Linked DNA regions of Homo sapiens: region 1 is linked to region 2. The links are contacts of gene promoters, found by promoter capture Hi-C in blood cells and fetal thymus (Javierre and others, 2016). All regions are on one chromosome and are shown on one strand. The core of a region is centred on a gene start or on the middle of the fragment in contact, and the rest is flanking DNA. Distances in the headings are between cores, read along the strand shown. Region 1 has its middle 6.4 kb from the start of LINC02902. Region 2 holds the start of TNS3 (tensin 3).

Evidence for each region. Contacts are between HindIII fragments. The CHiCAGO score rates a contact against its expected background, and 5 or more counts as called.
Region 1: a contact is called between a fragment that was not itself captured here and the fragment with the promoter of TNS3 in region 2, in 5 of 17 cell types (total B cells, naive B cells, M1 macrophages and 2 more). The highest score is 14.8, in total B cells.

Annotation. Positions count from the first base shown.
Region 1 is chr7:47,645,817-47,651,876 of GRCh38, reverse strand. No RefSeq gene overlaps it. Among named protein-coding and RNA genes, the nearest start is that of LINC02902, 6.4 kb to the left of the region's middle. The HindIII fragment of the contact is 5,738 bases long and covers 1-4,930 here.
Region 2 is chr7:47,580,212-47,586,389 of GRCh38, reverse strand. It overlaps TNS3 (tensin 3), which reads left to right and starts at 4,279. Exons shown (of 31, transcript NM_022748.12): 1 at 4,279-4,339. RefSeq lists enhancers at 3,868-4,405, 4,406-4,943. The HindIII fragment of the contact is 9,706 bases long and covers 1,649-6,178 here.

The DNA.
Region 1 (6,060 bases), core at 812-3,311, 68 kb before region 2:
ACTTTTTCCCTAGAGAATCTCTACTTACCAAGGCTCTGAGGATAGACCTGCGTACACAATTCAGATTTGTCCAACACATACATGAAATATTTTAGATGATTCATCGTTTATTTTACAAAATTCTTGTGAGTTGGGCATTTAGTCCATAATTCATGTGGGTTTATTTTGAGGTTTTGTGTTGAAATGATTAGATAACAACTGGAGTTCCCCTGAGAAAAGCTGCAAACATCTAGACATCACATCCTGGAGCCTGCTGTCCTTAGGGATATTTTAGCAGGGCTGGTAAGAATAGCAGAGGTGTCCTAAGGCCTCGTGTACCCATGGGTTCCAGTAAAATTGGCCAATGGGAGGAGGAGGGGCACCAAGGCTGCGTGATGTGTGGCCCAGCCCCTGGGAGCTGCAAGACACTGGATGAGTGGCTTTCTGAATCTCAGTTTCTGATCCTGTTAAAGAGGGCTAATTACCCTGCCCCTGCCCTGCTTGAGTTTATGAGAGGGTCCAAATGAGATTGATACATGTAAAACTGCCTCACAAAGATGGTAGAAACCTTTGATTTTGGCCCAGTAGGGTGAGAGGAGCCTCCCATTACTCAAGGCCAGTGACAGAGCCATCTGTCTTGCTGTGGAGCTGGCCATGGGCATTCCCACTGAGCCTCAAAATAGGGGCAACAGGCAAGAAGTGATGCTTCCAGGGTTGGCTCCAGGGCCTGGGCCACCCCTTGACACTGTTGCCCTTAATGAAGGTCTCTGCCCAGGAGCAGACAACAAACAGGGTGGGTGAAGGGGCAGCCTGAGATAATAAGCCCAGAGGGGCTGATCCTCGCTTCTAAGGAGCCCAGAGGGAGGAGGAAAGGTCCAGAGTACCCCGCACAGGAGGAATGCAGTGCCAATTAAGTGCCTGCTGCACACCATCCTCTTCCTAATTGACACAGCACTCCCAAGAAAAGCACCTTTCTCGTCTTTTAAAGTTGAGAATACAGAGATTCAGGGCTGCCATTACTTACCCAAGGGCACCAGCTGGCCAGTGGCCAATGTGGGTCTCAGCTCTGTGTACAGCTCGGCTTGGAAATGCATATTACCTCTTGGGAGAGCCGGTTTCTGGCTCAGGTGCCAGGATTCAAAAGGAGGAGATGTCCTCTCTGCTCCTCTGAGGCCTCCACCAACAGGAGGCTGAGGGGCTACCACCCCTCACACTAAGGCCCACTCCTCTGCAGAGTGAGATTGGCACTTGGAAGGTGAACCTGGTTCCCAACCACAATTCCGAGGTCACTCTAGGCTCAGAGGCGGCCCCCTTCTTCAAGGAGCAATGTGTAACTGGAGGCCTCTTGAGGCTAGGCCAATTTGGCAAAACCAGAGAGAGCCGACTCAACTGATCGGGTAGTTGCAGGTCTGAAGATTGCAGCTTGTGGGTGCTGCTCACAATGTTAGAAAACTGGTAACATGCAGTCACCTGGATGAAAAATGAGGGACTCTAGCCTCAGGGTAAGGGTAAAGTCACCCCAGTGATCCCGATAGTTTGTAAGGAGGCAAACTAGCTGGGCCGCTGTAGCGAGAATTTGGAGCAGACACTTCCCTCGATGGGCTGAGGTAATTACAGATACGAGGGATGTCTTTGCTGGTGGAGAAATGCCTCATCCTCCTGATTTAACAGTCACTAAGCACTTGCAAGTCTGAGAGAGGCTGCTGTCGGGACTGCAGGGACAAGTGGGATTCAGTACCTTCCTTGGAGAAACAAAAGGCCAGCTTTTGGTCACAGAAGGGAAGGCAGGATCCATGCATGATTCACAGTCATTACGCATTGATTGGTTCCCCAGCATCCTTCCAGGTGGTCAACGAGTTTCATTCTCTGTTGTCATGATGAACTCATTAATTTTAAAATGGTTGATTTGCCCCAGTCCAGAGCAGTCTTTTTTCTTTGTTGCTGCTCAAATTATTCCCTCTGTGGCGACTGGAAGCGTGTTTGAGTTGGGTTTTCAATCATTTAACATTGCCGCCATGAGCCTCAGAGAGCGTCCTTCTTTAATGATTAAGATGTTCCAGGCCCCACCCAGGCCAGGAATTAGGGGTTGTCCAAGGTGTCGTGGTGCTTTGGTGACTCGAGAGCACAGTCTGGCTGTAGCCCAGCCACCTCACCAAACCCACCAGGAGACAAACTCACCTAGAGACCATTCACACCCAAAGTTCTAAAGGTTTTTAGACTGAGACAGCCACCTTAGGAGAACCACTTAAAAATGCACAATACTGTGCTCCACTCTCAGCAACTGCAATACAGAGGGTCCAGGTTCAATGCCCAGATCTGTTTTGGGGGTTTTTTGTTTGTTTATTTGTTTGTTTGAGACAAGGTCTTGTTCTGTGGCCCAGGCTGGACTGAGTGGTGTTCCACTCCACTCCATTGCAGCGTGATCATGGCTCACTCCAACCTGGACCTCCCAGGTTCAAGGGATCCTCTCACCTCAGCCTCCTGCCTCCCTGTAGCTAGGACTACAGATGTGCCACCATGCTAGGCTAATTTTTGTATTTTTTTTGTAGAGATGTTGCCCAGGCTGGTCTCAAACTCCTGGCTCACGTGATCCTCCCGTCTCAGCCTCCTAAAGTGCTGGAATTACAGGCGTGAGCCACTGTGCCTGGCCCCAGAATCTTTTTTTAACATACTCCTCAATAATTCTCAAGGGCTATTATGGGCTTTCAGCAGGAGAGACCCTTGGGAACCACTGAAGGCTGTTGGTAAGGGAGTGCATGGGAGGCCTTTCTTTTGACTTTTCAGAGGAGCAAAAACCCCGAGAGATTAACAACAATCACTACATAGAATATTTTATGCTGGACCCTCAAGTCAGCATTTCAAAAAGTTTTCTCTGTCCTGCCTGGATAATTTTCTGTTTCTATTTTCCTGGGGTGGTAAAAGAAGTGGATAATTTATCAATTTCTTTCCAAACCCAAATGTCTCACCATCTCAAGCCACCCTAAATCTATTTCTGAATTGGGTGACAATCTTCTGATATGGACACATATATTTTTTAAACTTCCGTATAACTTTCTCAACAAAAATAAAGGAGAAACCTTGGAATGGAAACCCATCTATCTCCTGTGGTTTGGTTTGATGAAATCTTACTGAAACATTAAACCCACACATCCGTCTTGGGTAAAGGGAGGGAAGGGACTGAGAGTCCCTCCCAGCATGTCTGGGAGGCTTTCCCATAACTCTGGTCTCCACGGATCTGCCTGGGAAAGTATGGATTTGTAGTCATTTCTGTTTTCAGTGTTTGTTTGTTTTTTTTGTTTTGTTTTGTGTTTTGCTGTTTCATAATCCAGAAGCACACCAGCTACTCTTTCTTCGTGCGGTATTGTCTAGAGGATGTGCACAGAGCCTACTGGGACTCTCTATTTATGAAACTTTAGTGGAATGAACAACATTTTAGAGACTCAAACAGTCTGGCCAATGGACATTAACCTGAACAGTACATCCCTTCTCCTCCCGTCCCCTCTCCTTCACTCCCTAGAACACGTTCCCTGGGGTCAGGGGAAGGAATGATACCACTTGCCAGGGAGCAGCTTCTCTCTTGATCATGAGAAAAAGGACAATTCTTCAGGGTTTTTTGATCATGAAATACAGAAGGCAGGAATAAAAAAAATCAATCATACATAGGCCCTGAAAGGAAGGCTGTCTCTGGAAATGAAGACAGGTTTATAGTCCAGGCTAGGAGCTCTTCCAGAGCAGGGATGGGGTTTTTATTTTGTTTGTTTCACTTGGGTTTTCTGGGCTCTGAGTGTCTTGCACAGAGCTGACAACATAGCGCATGCTAAGTCAAGGGTGAAGTAATTAATAATTGAATCAATGTCCCTTCGCTTCAACTGTTATTAAGTCAATAGATGAATCTGGCCCTGAGACCCTCTCATAAGCTAATGTTCACTCAAGTTAGGCATGGACACTCACATGACCATGACCTGGAATCTTACACCCCACATGGTGTTTGTCTTTAACAAAAATGTCTTAACACCCTATTTCCAAAGTCCTCTAGATAACGAAGTGTCTACTCAGGCAGAGCACTGCTGATGAGCGCAGTGTCTGATGAGAAAAAGCAGAGCTAGGAGGGTGGAGAATCCTCCCGGAGCCCCTCAGTAGGAAGCAGCAGGGCTCGTTCTGTCATATGGGGCCATGCCCTTCTGTTTGCTGTTGTTCCCTGGTCCTAAACCAGGAAAGAAAGGCAGAAATGACAACTGCTTTCCTGGTATCCCTTGCCCTCGTTACGAACTCCTTTTGCACAGTCCACAAACTTAGCTGATCAACAGGAAGAATGTTTTAACATTTGAGTGAATCGAAACCACATTGGCAGAGCCTGCAGCCCAGGGACCCCTTGCTCTGTGTTTGGTGACTTCCTGCTCTGTGAGCATACAAGGGCCACGCTGCTGCATCAGCAGGCCTGCAGCTACACAGAAGAAAAGCAGCACTGGACTCAGCAGGCAGCTGGCAGCCCTGCCCCAGTCTCACCTGGCCCTTGCTCCAACCTCATTTTCTCACACTCTTGAAACAAACACAGCCCAGATGCACTATCCTGGGCTCACTGACTCAGAGAAGTACAGTGATGGCCCCAGAGGGGAGCAGAAAGCTCCCAGTACTGACTATAGTGGCTTTCACCCCATGGTACTTCTTTAGTCTTGCTTGACTGATTGACCTACATATGGATATATATTCGTTTGGGAGGCCTTGTCTTTCTGATTGACCTACAGATGGATATATATTCCTTTGGGAGGCCTTGTCCTTCTCTGGTGAGCTTATTGCATGGGAGAGACCCTTCTTCAATAGTCACTTTAGCTCAGCTGCCTTCAGGGAGCTGAGCAAGGCAGGTGTGGAGTAGAGGCTCCAGTGTTTGCTTTTCAAAGTACAAGCCACTTAAATCCCTCCTAATGAGGGGGTGCTCTGGGATTCCAAAGCTTTGCCTGGAGTTTTGGAATGACTTGGGAAAGTCCAGGATTTACGTTTGAACTCAGGCCACCTTCATTACTGGAAAAGAAAGCCTAGAAATCCTGTGCCACTATGAGTCTTTTTATCTTCCTTGCTAGATCAAGTTTTCTCTACATCTCAATCCTATAAGACAGGAAAACTAGTATGTAACTACACATCCAGAAGACACTGACAGGAGATCATTTTGAGCTGGTTGCTTCCTTGTCTTAAGGCTGTCATTTTCTCCAGCACTCAAGTTGTGGGCTACAGACCATCAACCTCAGCTTCGCTTTGGTTCTTGTGAGAAATTCAGCACCTCTGGTCCCACCCTAGACCAGAGAATCTGCATTTCATTTTTTTTTATTATTATTTTTGAGACAGAGTCTCACTCTGTCACCCAGGCTGAAGTGGAATGGTGTGATCTCGGCTCACCACAACCTCCGCCTCCTGGTTTCAAGTGATTCTCCTGCCTCAGCCTCCTGAGTAGCTGGGATTACAGGCGCCACTACGCCCAGCTAGTTTTTGTATTTTTTTTTAGTAGAAACAGGGTTTCACCATGTTAGTCAGGCTGGTCTCGAACTCCTGACCTCAGGTGATCCACCTGCTTCAGCCCCCCAAAGTGCTGGGATTACAGGCATGAGCCACCGCGCCCGGCCAGAATCTGCATTTTAATGAGATCTCCAGGCCATTTGTGTGAATGCCAAGTTTGGAAACACTGCTTTAGAGGACGCAGAGAGGAAGACTTAGACGTCTTGGGCTTGAGTCCCTGAGTTATCCACTTTTTAAGCTGTGTACGTTAAACACTATAACCTCTGAGTTTTATCACCTAAATAATGAGAGTATTCATCAAGACTCTTTAAGGTTACAACAATATAAACAAAACTTCAAACAGGCATAAGCAGAGAGTGAGGTCAGCAAGATGGCAGACTAGGTAACTCCAGGCCCTGTTCTCACGTTCAAACATGAAAAGAACATCTAGAGACTGATTAAAATGACTTTATAGGCCGGGTGCAGTGGCTCAAGCCTGTAATCCCAGCACTTTGGGAGGCCAAGGCGGGCAGATTTCCTGAGGTCGGGAGTTCAAGACCAGCCTGACCAACATGGAGAAACCCCTTCTCTACT
Region 2 (6,178 bases), core at 3,030-5,529:
AGAAAAAGAAACTGAATCTGCATCCATGCAGTGGGCATCCACAAAGTGGGCTCCCAGGGTCCATGTTTGTAGAAGTTGGTGTGCAGGTGCAGTTTTTGGAAACAAGGTGCTGTATTAGGGTTCTCCAGAGAAACAGATCCAATAGGGCATATGCAGATCTATAGAAGAAATTTAATTAATTAATTAATTCATTTATTTTTGAGACAGAGTCTCACTCTGTCGCCCAGGCTGGAGTGCAGTGGCGCATTCTCGGCTCACTGCAAGCTCCACCTCCCGGGTTCACGCCATTCTCTTGCCTCAGCCTCCCGAGTAGCTGGGACTACAGGCTCCTGCCACCACGCCTGGCTAATTTTTTTTTTGTTTTGTATTTTTTAGTAGAGACAGGGTTTTACCGTGTTAGCCAGGATGGTCTCGATCTCCTGACCTCGTGATCTGCCCGCCTCGGCCTCCCAAATTGCTGGGATTACAGGCGTGAGCCACTGCACCTGGCCTAGAAGAAATTTATTATAGGAATTGGCTCACACAATTATGGCTCACACAACTATGTCTGCAAACTGAAGACCCAGGAAAGTTGGTGGTGTAATTGCCAGTCTGAGTCCAAAGGCCTGAAAACCAGGAGCACTGATATTTGAGGGCAAGAGAAAATGAATGTTCCAGCTCAAGAAGGAAGAGGAAGAACTCACCCTTTTTCTGCCTTTTTGTTCTACTTGGGCCCTTGAAGGACTGGATGGTGCCCACCCACACTGGTGAGGATGGATTTGCTTTACTCAGTCTACCCATTCAAACGCTAAGCTCTTCCAGAAACACGCTACCCACACACCCAGAAATCACATTTTACCAGCTATCTGGGCAACCCTTAGCCCAATCAAGTTGACATCTGACATGAGCCATCACAAACACCAAGGTTATGTAAATTCCGAAAAGGTTCTGAGACACGGAAAAGCTCAGGTGCCTCTAGCCAGGCCTGGCAACTGTAAAGCCCACTTTGTTGAGCTGTAGGTGAGGATTCGTGTGTTTGGGAAGAGAAAAAGGAAGAGAGGAAAGGGCCAGGTGTTCTAGTAAGAGTCTCAAGGGACTTAGTATCTTTTTTTTTTTTTTTTTGAGACAGAGTCTTGCTCTGTCACCCAGACTGCAGTGCAGTGGTGCGATCTCAGCTCACTGCAACCTCCGCCTCCTGGGTTCAAGCGATTCTCCTGTCTCAGCCTCCTGAGTAGCTGAAACTACAGGTGCGTGCCACCACTCCCAGCTAATTTTTGTATTTTTAGTAGAGACGGGGTTTCACCATATTGGCCAGGATGGTCTCGATCTCTTGACCTTGTGATCTGCCCTCCTCGGCCTCCCAAAGTGCTGGGATTATAGGTGTGAGCCACTGCGCCCGGCCGAGACTCAGTATCTTAAGGCAAAACACAGGCATTTGCTCATGTTCCAACTCCACAGTTCTCTGAATGCGCTGTAGAGCTTTGTAACTCCATCCTGTGTAATGTTTCCTGCTGTCTCTTTCAGTTGGTCTTTGGGAAATATTTTCAGTGACAGAAAGTAAGAAATAAGGAAAAATATCCAAGTCCTTGCTCATATACCTCCCTTGATCTAGGGATACAAATTCAGATTTTTGCGGTGGCAAAGACAATCTTCATTGCAATGACAAGCTTCCAACACATCTTCTAAAACTCCTACAGGGGAGGAGCAAGAATGAGTCTGCAAAGAAGGGCTCAGGGAGGAAGGAGATTGGCGGGAGTTTCTTGCCCAGACTCCCCTGCCCTCTGCTTGGCATACTAGGAGGGAGAGGCCACTCTTGGCATATTGCTGCTTTTTTTTTTTTTCAGCTAAATGTTGGAGACTTTTGTTTTCAAAGTTGAGTTTTTTTTGGATGGCTAAGGATGGAAAAAATGCACATTCCCTTTTTCAGATACTGGTTCATGCCCTGTTTTTGTTTAATTTCTTGGAAACTTGAAGTTGCAGCCTGCGAAGTGGGGAGGCCCTGGGCTGGGGAAGCGAAGCTCTGGAAGGGGCCCAGGTCCCGATTGGGGATCCAGAGAGGCTTCCCTTCATGTGCCTCTAGACGAGGTGTGGGGAACCCGGGGAACAGCCATCCCAGCCAACACAGAGTGCGTGGGGATACTGGAGCCCGGTTTTTCTTCTCCTTTCTTGGGACACTGCCAGGGAATATAACCACAGACACTGCACGAATGAGCACCCAAGTCACAGTTTTTCTAGAAACAAAGGTGTGGTTGGGGCATCCCATTCCATTGCTACCCCAACAAGGGCAGTGTGGCCGGTGGGGCCATCTGGCTTGGGTGTGGGTAGCAGTTTGGAGAGATTTTAGAAGAGGCTCCCTGACAAAGGGTCAGAGAACCCCAGCACTGCACTGAGTTTTCCTGACTGTGAGCTCTCAGACAAACAACAGTGTCACCTCCTGTAAATGGGTGCCCTAACACTGCAAGAAGCTCAAATTCATGTTGTCATTCAGCCAACATGGTTTTTGGCATTATGATGGTTTCTGTGATGCACAGAATAGCACGTAATTGGCTCTGGGTGTGAAGATCACCACGGTCTTAATGGAAGAGAGGGTTGAGCAAAGTGATGATTTAGTCCAATTGCACAGAGTGGATGGTGTGGGCAGGCAGCTGGGAAGAAGTTAAGAGTAGCCTCAAGGCCAGATAGTCCTGATCCCTCCCACTTTCTTCGCCTGACCAGGTGGGTGACCTTGAACAAGTTGCCTAGAATGTCAGATCCTGTTTCCTTATCAGGACAAAGGAGATCGTAACAGTACCAGCCTCACCCCCATTCCTAACCCAGCTGGCTGTGACCTCCTCCCCACCTTCCCCTATGGCATCTTCCCTGGCACCCCTTGACTCATCTCATTGACTCTTGACCTGGTGTCTCCTAGAGTGTAGGAAAAATGCCTGCCTCATCTCTAGGGGCTGGGGCATGGTGCTCATGAAGCCTTTGCCTGGGAATAAATACCCAGATCAGTCTGGGGATGAGAAATGACACTACCTTCCAGAGCACAGCAGGGGTTGTTCAAGTCTTCCAGAAAAGCAGCTCTTGTTTCTCCTCATGTGGTGGGAGTGGAGTCAGAGCGTGGCTCAGGCCCCACATTCTCAGCTGTTTGGATCTGGGGACTCGAAGTTTCTGGTGGTTACTTCTGAAAGTCTTTTCCAGGATAATTATTCTTGCTCGGTTTCTCTGCCATCTCTGACAGGCTGTTTTCCCTGCTTCCCCCGCTGCCCTGAAGGGGCCAGAGGAACAGGGCAGGACCCCAGGGCTGCGGATGGGTTAGGCAGCTCTGTTCCCGAATCCAAAGCAGTTCTTGGTGACTGTCCTCCAAGACTTGCCCTGGACCCTGCTCCGGGTGGGATTCTGAGACCGCCTGCTCCACGTGGCAGATGAAATCTAGGTCTCTTCTGTGAGAGGCTGGCGGGGAGGATGTTTTCCTGGAAAGGACCACAGGACAAACCGCTGATGAAATTTCTCTTGTGACCTCCCTGGAGGAAGAGCACTTCTGATTTCTGCAAACTTTTTCCATTCCCCCGATCTCACAAATGGGGAAACTGAGGCTAAGCGACTGAGTTCAGGGCCATCTGAATCTCAGGGATGGACAGTCAGGATGGACAACCTATAGGCCTTTCCTCCTCTGAGAATCTCTCTGCTCGGGATCGTTTTTCTGGTTTCCCCTGGCTTGCCTAAATTCTGCTCATTTGTCCCGGCGCATTTTAAGAAGTCATGTGACTTCTAAAGACTTCCCTGACCTCCTCCCTTCATTAGCTGGGTATTTCAGGGGCTTCTACGGCACCCTAGGCTTTCCGGAGCGGCTGTGCTCCTTTATGTATGCGCGACTCCCACTAGGCTATGAGCTACAGGAGGGAGGGTAGGTCTTGCTCCCGGAGAGCACCTTAATCACAGGCGCTGAATGAAAGAATGAACTGGTTGTGCAGGAACCAGGATCCGAACCCGCCTCCCCAGGTACTCTAACACCGGCCCGGCGGAACCTGCAAGCCTCCAGACCACTTGGAGCCTGGGCTGCTCAATGGGTCTGATAATTCCAGGTCCTCTCTGCGGCCAGCGAAGGGAGGTCCCAGGGCGCACCTCGGCAGGGCGGGGGACCCCGGTGAAGGGCGCCTGGAGGCGCGCTGCATTGTTAGGGTGATGAGGCCAGGTGACCCGCCAGGCTCGGGGCGCGGGCGCGGGGGCCGGCCGTGGCGATTGCCCGCGCCGCCTCGAGGGGGCCCTGCCGCGGGCGCCGGCAGCCAGCCAGGAGGACGGGCCCGCCCGCGCGCTACTCGGAGCCCAGCCTCGTTGCGGCCATCGCCCTGCCGGACCGCGCCTCAGGCTCCCCCAGGTACTGGGGCCGGGGAAGGAGGAAACGCGGCCACGCGCCGCGGTCCTCTTTGTTTCGGGCCCGGCGCGGGCTTTCGCGCTCCGGGCGCAGGAACGAGGCTTGGGGAGCACAGAGATCTGGAGCTGGGGCGCGGGGACTGAGTTCGGGGAGCGCGGAGACAGAGTTCGGGGAGCGCGGGGTACGGGAGCTCAGGGCGCGGGGATGGGGTCACGGGAGAACCCAGGTTAGGGAGCGCGGGGACCCGGTTGGGGGCGCACGGGCAAGGGGTTTGGTGCGCGCGGGTACGGGGTTTGCGGCGCGTGGGGGGCGGGGGCTCGGCAGGAGTCCCAGGACAGGGGCTGGGGCGCGGGCCAGCTTCGCCGGAGTCCGGGGACGGGGGCGCTGACTGGCTGGGTTTGGGGACTGGCTGGGGCGCAGGACCACTCGAGTGGGACCCGTGGCGCCCGGGCGCCCTGGACTGAGGGCAGAGACCGGAGCAGCTATGTCGCAGTCGCTGTCGGGACCGAGCGGACTTTGCTCCCTAGGACTCCGTCTCGAGACTCCAGGTGGAGAGCGCAGCTAGGGGCTTCAATGGGCAGGCTCAAGACCCTTCTCCTACTTTTTCTAGGCAAGCTCTCCAGTGCGTCTCTTTCCCTTTCCCTTTGGTGGGTGGGAGGCAGGGGGTCTTTACGCGCTTCCTTTTTTTCCCTGAAGGACGGGACCTCGGGGTGGGGGGATATTCTGGGGTGGGGGGTGCTGTCCCAGGCTGGGGGCCAGCTGTGTGGCATGTGCCTCCTGGCACGCGGGAGCTGTCGCTGACAAGCAGGAGGAGGGAGGGTCCCGGACGGCCCAGGGGTCTCTGTGTCGGTGCTGTGCAGCGGCCTGACATGTGAGTCCCGGGTCCTTTGCTTGGAGTGATTTGAGTGTCTGTGGCGGGAAGAGATTCAGGCGTTCCTCAGGCATTCTCCAGACAGTGTCAGCAGATGACCCGAACTCCAGCGTGGTTGAAAAACTCAAAGCGCCATCAGGGTGTGGGGCCAGCAGAGAGCACTACTGAGGGTGGTCACAACCCCCTGGGAAGCCCCCAGGCTTCCTTGGGGCGCATTCACACACTTTGATCTTCCGGGTTGGCTTTCCCCCCATTTTTTTCACTATTTGAATGCATGATCATGGAGGACTCTGAAAATATACTGAAAAGTATGAATGCAGAACTCATTGTATTAATATTGCATGGCCCTTCTGAACTAACCAACCCTTTGACATTTTAGATTTTCTTGAGGCTTTGGTCTGTGCATATTAATTTTTTAAATTGCTTTCATGCTTTCCCTTTTGAATGAGGTTTACTTGTTCTGGTGATTCTGGTTCTTCTCTCTTTGGGGCCTGTGAGGTTATATTTGCAAATCAATCAACAAGTATTAAGAAAGGCTTTTCTGTGCTGAGGCCTTGAGGGCCAGGGAGGGGGTGGGGAGTCGCTGCAGCTGGAGGGTGGAGGGGCAAGGCCATTACACAGAGATGGAGGTGCACTGGGTCCTGGTGGGGGTGTGGTAGCACAGGGGGTGGGGGGTGTGTACACAGGGAATTGACAGGAGGAACTGGCAGCAAGCCCGACTCCTGACCTTAGGAATAGTAATGGTGACCCCGAAGACAAAGTAACAGGCATACCGATTGAGTGTTTGCCTGTGCTAAATGCTTTGCATGCATTCATTTCATTTCACCCAAATTACATTCCTTGGAGGGAGTTGGGATTATGATTACCCCATTTTACAGACGAGTAAACTGAGGCAAAGGAAGGCTAAGTAACTTGGCCGAGATGAAATGAAACATGGTGGTAGTGCAGCCTGGGATTCTGGGACAGGACTC